2 separate regions of the Homo sapiens genome follow, and region 1 is linked to region 2. The links are contacts of gene promoters, found by promoter capture Hi-C in blood cells and fetal thymus (Javierre and others, 2016). All regions are on one chromosome and are shown on one strand. Each heading gives the region's core, a stretch centred on a gene start or on the middle of the fragment in contact. The rest is flanking DNA. Distances are from core to core; before and after follow the strand shown.

Region 1 (4,438 bases), core at 1,588-4,087, 340 kb after region 2:
TTCACTCCTATGCAGTTTGAGTTCATGATCGAGTCCATCCTGTATGCCCGGGATGCCTGGCTGAAGGAGGACGGGGTCATTTGGCCCACCATGGCTGCGTTGCACCTTGTGCCCTGCAGTGCTGATAAGGATTATCGTAGCAAGGTGCTCTTCTGGGACAACGCGTACGAGTTCAACCTCAGCGCTCTGAAGTAAGTGTCCACAGCTGGGACTGGCACCGTCTTGTGGGGCCTCCTGGTCCACAGTCTGCAGGTGGGCCAAGGCCCTGGGAGATCCCATACGACGGTTGGATAAATGAGGGTACCTGTGCACCCAGATAGGACAATCTGTTGTAGCATTGGAGTAATTAAAGCAGTATGGTGCTATAACAAGACAGATGGGCAGAGCAGGGTAGAATGCAAGGAACAAAAATTTTCGTATGTGAAAAAGGTGGCATTACGATTAGGAGGGAGTGAGGGCCAAGTCAGCAAATTATTCTGGAGCAGTTGATTAGCCCTTGTTCTCTCACGCCATACGTGAAAACTTAATTCTGCATGGAATCAGCGTCAGCGACAGACATCCATGGGGGCCTGTGTGCACCATCTTAGGTGGAGAAATGAGCAGCAACAATGGATGGAATGGACCCTGGGCTAGATAGAATCTGGCAGTCTATGTGGCAGAAATCAGCAAAAACACGATTGTAAAAGCAAACAAGTAATTAGAGAAATCACGTGCTGTCAGGTCTTGGAATCAATTAGAAAGAGATGACTAGCCAGATGGAATTGCAGCCCAATCATGTGAACAGGCAAACCGCAAAAAATAAATAAAATTACCAATAAATATATGAAAAATTATAATGTTGTTAGTAGTTAAAATGCGAATTAAAATACATGCTGTTTTCCCTACCAGACAAGCAAAGAGTAAATTAAAATAGTAGCCCAGGCTTGCCTGGCAGTGGCAGGGAGGTGTGGCTGCCAGGGCCTTAGAGGTTGGCATCAGGCTGCCCACCCCAGTCACTGCCAGAGCCTCCCACCTGAGTGTTCCTCCCGGCACTGGAAGCCAGTGGCCGTCCAGAGGAACGTGATTGAATTGCTGTATATCCATCTGGTGGAGCACTGCTGTGTGTCTGTTAAAAAAGAAACCATAGGTTTTTAGGGATATGTAATGATATTTAGAAAGGGTTTAAGAGACAGTAAAGCTTGGCAGAATAAACCGTGTATACAGAATGGATGTTTGCTTGCATAAATAAATTTATATAAATATGTCTGGGGGATAAAAATAAGTATATCACAATGCTAAGACAGGCATATGGGGAATTTAAGCTTTTCTTTATACTTGTCCATAGTTTCCAATTTTTAAATTTGTAATTTTTTATCAGAAAAATAAATGTGTAAATATAGTGGAATCTTTATTAAAACATTCACTTTTATTTGCTATTTCAGAAGTTACTGCTTTGCTTATTTTTTACAACATTTCTGTGGTAAATAATCGGTGACTTACAAGCCTAGTGCAGCCAGTGATGGGGGTTGGCAAACGGTGACATGCAGGGGCCATGCGGCGTCTAGTGTCTGTTTCTGTGTTGAATTTGTGTAGCAACAGAGCAAGTATTTCTCCTGAAACTCAGACTCACTCAGGCCACCTCAGCCCTTCTAGTTCCTTTCGTTTATTATAGAGTAACCTACAGCAGGAATACCGCGTTCATTTACTGTTAATAGAAGATCCACAAAAGATTTTGAAATCAAATACATTCTAAAACTAGGCAAGACACGCTGCAACTCCCCTTGTCCTCTGGGTTATGAGGGGTGAGCGTTGGTTTCCGTGTGCTCAGATCCCATGAATGAGACCTCACAGGGAAGCGCCCAGTGACTGGCAGGCTCCTTAATGCCTCCAGGTCAGGCTCAGGAAGTCTCTGGATGCCTGGGTAGAGTCTGGGTCTTCTCAGAGCGGGAGGCACCCAGGGCCTGTGGAGGCCTGAGGGCTGCTCTGGGGTTCCAGGGCCCCAGATAGTGGCTTAGCATCCTGGTGACACAGAAGGGAGAGCACTCACCGCGGTCCCACGTGTGTGTTTTGAAGCCTAAGATGTTTGCAATGACTCTCAACAGTCGCTTTGACCTTTTCCCCTAGATCTTTAGCAGTTAAGGAGTTTTTTTCAAAGCCCAAGTATAACCACATTTTGAAACCAGAAGACTGTCTCTCTGAACCGTGCACTATATTGCAGTTGGACATGAGAACCGTGCAAATTTCTGATCTAGAGGTGAGAAAAAGATGAATTGCTCCTTACATTCGATAATCAGTGACCACGAAACACTCAGACCAGAGCCTGGCTTATCAAAAACCTTCAGTGAGTGCTGGGGGTGTGAGTGAATAACTAATTATTTTATTATGCAAATAAGTGAATTTATAAAACGTTTGCTACTGATTTTTTCCAGTCTTTTTTCTTTTTTACGTTCTATTTTGATTCTTTCATATTGTACACCATTTTATGTCTCCAGCGTCTTCATTTTAGATTTATGTTTAATATTCTCAGCATCTTCAAAATCAAATAAATTATATTTCGTTTCATTATGGTATTTGCATTACAGTTTTTTTCAAGTATTTTAAGCCACTCTTCATGACAGAATCGTTAGAATTCCCTCCGTGAATCCCTGTCTGTGGCCGCGCGGTGGCGCTCGTGGGCTCTGGGCGGTTTCCCCGCGCCCCCGCCCTGCCTGGCGCCCCAGCTGGCGCCGCGTCTGGAGATGGGGCGGGCGCGGTGGCGCCGGCGCGCTTTGGTTTTTAGTTCGTTCTGCTGTGGAAAGGCCCAGCCTGGAGCTCTCCAACTCCTTAACTGGAAGAGCTGAGCGCCGAAAAGATTCCGCAGAATCTGGGGTAGAAAATTGGGCGCAAGAAGCTCAGATGCTTGAAACGTTTCTGACTGAAGCCTCTGAACTCACGATGCGGGTTTTGGGGGTGGTTTCCCCAGGCTGGGGGGCTTTTCTACGGTTCCTGACGCATTCAGCGTCTGCGCGGGGCGCGTGGAGGGGGCCGCCCCAACCCGGGCCCTGCGGTGCCACGCGGTGCCCACGCGTGCCTTGTCATCTGCTTGACCCAGACCCTGAGGGGCGAGCTGCGCTTCGACATCAGGAAGGCGGGGACCCTGCACGGCTTCACGGCCTGGTTTAGCGTCCACTTCCAGAGCCTGCAGGAGGGGCAGCCGCCGCAGGTGCTCAGCACCGGGCCCTTCCACCCGTGAGTGTGCGGGGCGCGGGCACGGGGTGCGGGGTGGGGGGCAGGGGAGTAGGCGGGGTGCGGGGATGGGGCGCGCAGGAGGGGGTGGGACGCGGCGTGGCGGTCGTGGGGGGGTGGGGCACGTGGGGGCGCGGGCAGTGGGGTGGGGGCGGCGCGCATGGGGGCACGGGTGGTGTAGACACCGCAGCCTGTGTGCCCCCTTCCGGGTCTCGCCACCACTCTGGGCCCAGCCTGGGCGTCCCTCCGACAACAGCCCCAACGGGAGGAGCTCCCTGTCTTCCACCCCGCGAGGAGCACCACAGCTCTTCATGGTCTGACCCAAAGCGCCTCCACGGGGCGTCGGGGTTCACCTGACGTTTTTGGAGGTGCCTGTTTTTTGGGACACATTTCCCCGCCAGCACCCTGGGCATGTGTGGCAGTGGAGCTGCCTTCAGGGCCCTGCAGGCCTTCCCTTTGGGTGGGGTTGGCTACCCCGCTCTGGCACCTGCCCCGCTGACTTCCCAGCGTGGTGGCCCCGCGAGGGGACCCCGGCTCCAGGGAGGTCGCAGAGGTGCGGGGTTGATGGCCTGGCCTGGCATGTGGTCCCCATCACAAGAGTCCTGTGGTGGCCCCTCCAGTGCCATCACCGGGTGGAGGTGGGCAGCTTGGAGGCCAGTTATACCCATCCCCGAGTCTGGGGGCGTGGAGGGGGCAGTGACCTGGGGCACAGGCTGGGGTGAGGGGTGTGACCAGAGTCAGGGAAAAACTGGAGACCTGAGGAGCCCCCCACTTCACTGCTGGCCCCACCGTGGACAGTGGGAGTTTGAGGGAAGACAGAGCCTGAGGAACTTAGAGATGTTTCCAACGCAACCCAGTGCAGAATCATAGCGTTTTACTATTTCCCCCCAAATGTGACAGTTGTCCTCACCTTGTAACCTTCACAGAAGCGACTCCTTGGACCTGATTCTGTCTGTGTACACCACAGTTTAACAGCAGGAGCTAGATCACCAGCCTCTGCAGCTTAGGCAAGGGTGCAGGAAGGGGTTGCACAGCCGTCCTCCTGGCGGGCCGGGGAGTCGACACCACACGGGACCTTTAGTGCAGCTGTGTGTCCCCTGAGCTCCCGCATCCTCTGGGCCACCCAGGGTGAGCCGTCCACACCTCCTGGAATCTGAGTGGTCTCAGGAGCAAGCTTGTGTTTGGCATTGGCAGGATCTGTCTCACTAGCGTAACTTTGATCCCAGTGTATCCC
Region 2 (3,889 bases), core at 482-2,981:
ATTAGCTGGGCATGGTGGTGTGCCTGTAATTCCAGCTGCTCAGGAGGCTGACATGGAGAATCACCTGAGCCCGGGGAAGTTGAGGCTGCAATGAGCGGTGGTCTCACCACTGCACTCTAGCCTGTGTGACAGACTGAGACCCTGCCTATAAAAAAGAAAAGAAAAAAGAACTGAAATAAGACCCAAGTCCAACATTAGCAGAACCTCTCTAGGATGTCCACAGAAACGACTCTGGGGTTCTGAGGAACACAGTCTAGGCAAACCTGGGCACATCCCCTCAGTCCCACAGTTGTAAATGTATTGTAACACGTAACAGTTGTGAGATTCAGGCGCGGTCTGGGTCTCTGTTCCTGGAAAGTGTGATCCTGTGGGTGCAGCCCCTGCTCGCTTGGCTGTGTTGCCTGCCTGGCCCCTGCTCTAATGAGCCCACTGCCCAGAGTTTGCTCAAACCACCCAATTCCGAGTCTGGGAACCAGGAGACCGCTGGACACCCCGCTCACCACACAGAAGACTGTGGCCTGAGTCAGGAGAAGGAAGTTTCTGGCGGTCGAGCTTCCACGGCTTCCTGAGGGAGGTTGCAGGGAGCCGAGATCGCGCCATTGCGCTATAGCCTGGGCGTCGCAGCGAGACTGTCTCAAAAAAAGAAAAAAAATTCTGAGCGAGATTCCAGGGCTTCCTGAGGGCGCGTTTAAGTTGCAGTTGCTGAGGAGGCTGCAAGGTGAGCTTGCGTCAGCGAGGAGCCACTCCAGCACGCTCGGGAAGGGCATCGTTACTGCTGCAAACAAGCACACGGCCCTCCACGACGAACCTTTTGCAAGTGAAGGCGCACGAACAGGCCCGGAGGACTACAAAGAAACCCAGAAACCAGACTTGGACACATGAAATAAAGGGGTTAGCTGAAGGAATACTCCACAGTTAAGGACGGCCTGCGCGAGGTCACCGGCCCTGTCTTGGTTTTTTGCCACTTCGCTCCAGTTAGTTTCCCAAGTTCCACCTACGCGCGCGCCAGCTGAGAAAACGCCCACCCCGGCGGTCCCGCCACAGGTCACAGGCGGTGCGGACCCCGGGACTGTGTCCGGGCTTCGGTGTCCAGAGAGCTCCAAGACACCCAAACCTTCCGTGGTTTCCACCTCTGCAAGCTTATGTTCCGCTGAGCTCAAGCTGAGGGACGACGACCTCATGCGACGTCAGTTTCCCCCTGGGACCACGAACCCACGGCCCCATTTCTCTTCTGTCTACTAAAAACCTTTTCTTTTCTTTTTTTTTTGAGACCTAAGACATCAGTGAGACACACGAGCAGACACGGGCTCGGTCGGGAAAGGCGGGAGCTCCAAGCGGCGGGGCCTGCAGGTCCAGGCGGTTCGCGGGCTTTCTGACCGCATTCGGCCGAGTTCTTCTCTGAAGACCCAGGACCCCCGGCCGAGGGGGCGCATTCGGCGGGCTGGTGGCGTAGGATTTTGTTTCGGGTTCCCAGGGTCCCGGCAAGGGTGAGGGAGCCCTTGCGGATCCCCTGAGATCCACCTCAGCAGCCTCCTCCGTGGTAGGCCTCAACTTCCCGCGGCGGCCCACAGCCAACGACTAATGCCTGAGCGGGAGAAAACGGCCTGGCCCTGTCCGGGTGGTTGCTGAGCACCGTTCGGCGCCGCCCGCGCCTGCAGGGAGCCCGGCCCGCTGTCCTGGTGGACACAAAGCCCAGGGGCCGCCCGCGCGGGACCAGCAGCGCGAACTTTTTGCCGCTCGGCCAGCCTGGCAGGGGATTTTAAAATCGGCCAATCACAGCGGGCGCCAGGCCTCCGCTTTCCGCTTACTGGTCCTGCCGTAGGAGGCGGGTACGTGAGCGCACCAATCTGTGGCCGGCGAGCGTAAAGGGCGGGGCTCCGCCCAGGCTGCACCGCCCAGAGCGCGCGTGCGCGAGACCGGAAACGCAGCCCCCTGATTGGCGGCGCGTGTCGGGGGCGGGGCCGCGGCTGCGTGACAGTTGTCGCGGGGGGAGGGCGAGCCCAAGCGCGGGGGAGGGAGTGTAAATAGAGCGAAGGCTGCTCTGTGTCAGCCCCGTCACCGCCGGGCGGCCCGCGCGGAGTCTGAGGGAGATGGAAGTTGAGCAAGAGCAGCGGCGCAGAAAGGTGGAGGCCGGGAGGACGAAGGTAAACATTAGGGGCTTCTTCTCTAGCTGCTCTGGCGTGAAGTCCTAAGGGCGGCTCCGGTGCCCGCCACCGCCCCCTGCCAGGAGAGGACGCGGTCCGGCGGAAGCCGCCGCGGAGGTCTCGCTTTTTCCCGCCGGCTCCGCTGGAAGCCGCCTCCTGGCCGCCGCCATCTTGAATCCGCCGCTCTCCGCCAGGTCCCGCCCCCGCCGCGGCCACAGCCAATCAGCGGCCGGGACGCGCGGCGCCTCTCGGGCGGGCCGGGGCGGGGCTGCGCCTGCGTCGGGGGGGGTGGGGCGCGGGCTGGGCGCGGTGCACGCCGGGGCGGGGTGTGGCTGCAGGGCGGGGCTACAGGGGCGTGGCGTGGCTGCACGGAGGGGGTGGGGCGCGGCAGGCGCTGGACCCCAGGCTGGATCTTCCAGTGGCTCCCGCGTCCTCCGGGACCGGGTGGCCTGGGGCGGGCGGCCGGTATTCGGGTGGCTGCTTGGTCTAGGGCCAGTTTCCTGCGCGGCCGGGGCCGGGGGCGTGGCGCGGGTGGCCTGCAGCGCCTCCCCAGGGTGCGCCTTCGCCTCGTCCGTCGGAGATGCTTTCCCCGCGCGTTTCTCGCGGCGTTGCAGTCCTTACTGTGTGAAAGGCCCCCGCGGCGCTCCCGGCCGCCGTCTTCTTCCCGCGCCCTTGGGCTCGCGTCCTGCCCGTCCGGGCCTGGCGTACGCTGCCGGGAACCCACGCGGCGCTGGCGCCGGGCGCCTTCAAGGGACGCGCTCCCGTCTTTCTCCCGCCCCGGGTTTCTCCGTGAAAAAGCGCTCGGTTTGATGGCCACTGTCCTAGGTTTCGTGGGAATAAAGCGCGCAGAGCCCATGACTCGGGGGCAGGAGAAAGGGAGTCCCGAAAGCGCGAGGCGGAACCGCGGGAGCAGGCCGGCCTCTGCGAGGTGCGCGCCGCTCCCCCCCAGGATGTTCTGGCTGGGGTGCTGGGGAAGAGCGGGGCTCCCGGGCACGGCGGACAGGGGACGCGGGGCTAGGCCGGGGAAGGGCTGAGGCGGGCAGGAGGGGAAGGGGAGCCCGGAGCCTGCAGGGAGCTGCGAACAGGAGCAGAGCTCCCAGGAGGGTGGAGGGGGGAGGGAGGGACAAGACGCCGCCTGTAGGGCGACGCAGGCCGCAGACCAGGTCTGTGCTATATCCCGACATGGATAGGTGTGGTGGAGGAGGACATGAAAATAAACGACATGAGGTTGACTTTGAAGGAAATATTTCCTTGAGAGACCATTTTCTTGTGTAAATGGCCTTGTGTAATTTTTCTGGGTCCATGAGCTTGTGTACTTGTGTTATCATTTACACAAATGTGTGTTCCATGCGTTTGTTTTTGTGGCCACAGTTGTCTTTTGAGGGAACAGATGTCTCCCCGTGAAAGGCTGATGTGGGATCGATCGCATACCTCTTGAGTAAGACGTTAGCGGGAGATGAGGCTCGCACATAGTCTCAAACTCTCGGATTTGAGGACTGAGCAGAGCTAGGCTGTGCCTTCTGATGGGCGATGCTCTGTGGATGTCCCTGGTGCTTTGGTGAGCTGTGTCATGAAAAATAGAACATCTGATTCCATAAAGGAAGATGTGAGATTGACCTGGCTTAATTAATTTTTTGCTATTTCTGTATCTTGTCTCAGAATCTATGGCTAGGAAGTTTTGGCTGGGCTATATATTTCTTCAGTTGGGGGAAAATTGGGGCAAGAAGGGAGAGATTTAGCTTTTA

Evidence for each region. Contacts are between HindIII fragments. The CHiCAGO score rates a contact against its expected background, and 5 or more counts as called.
Region 1: a fragment that was not itself captured here is called in contact with the fragment with the promoter of C21orf58 in region 2 in 1 of 17 cell types (naive CD8 T cells); the score reaches 5.2 in naive CD8 T cells.

Annotation. Positions count from the first base shown.
Region 1 is chr21:46,658,730-46,663,167 of GRCh38, forward strand. It overlaps PRMT2 (protein arginine methyltransferase 2), which reads left to right. Exons shown (of 12, transcript NM_206962.4): 8 at 16-191; 9 at 2,104-2,233; 10 at 3,071-3,207. Among named protein-coding and RNA genes, the nearest start is that of PRMT2, 25 kb to the left of the region's middle. RefSeq lists a silencer at 2,567-2,676 and an enhancer at 2,777-2,826. The HindIII fragment of the contact is 3,077 bases long and covers 1,300-4,376 here.
Region 2 is chr21:46,322,139-46,326,027 of GRCh38, forward strand. It overlaps C21orf58 (chromosome 21 open reading frame 58), which reads right to left and starts at 1,732. Exons shown (of 8, transcript NM_058180.5): 1 at 501-1,732. The coding sequence starts at 600. It overlaps PCNT (pericentrin), which reads left to right and starts at 2,018. Exons shown (of 47, transcript NM_006031.6): 1 at 2,018-2,144. The coding sequence starts at 2,091. RefSeq lists an enhancer at 1,261-1,400 and silencers at 1,751-2,080, 2,351-2,810. The HindIII fragment of the contact is 15,185 bases long and covers 1,138-3,889 here.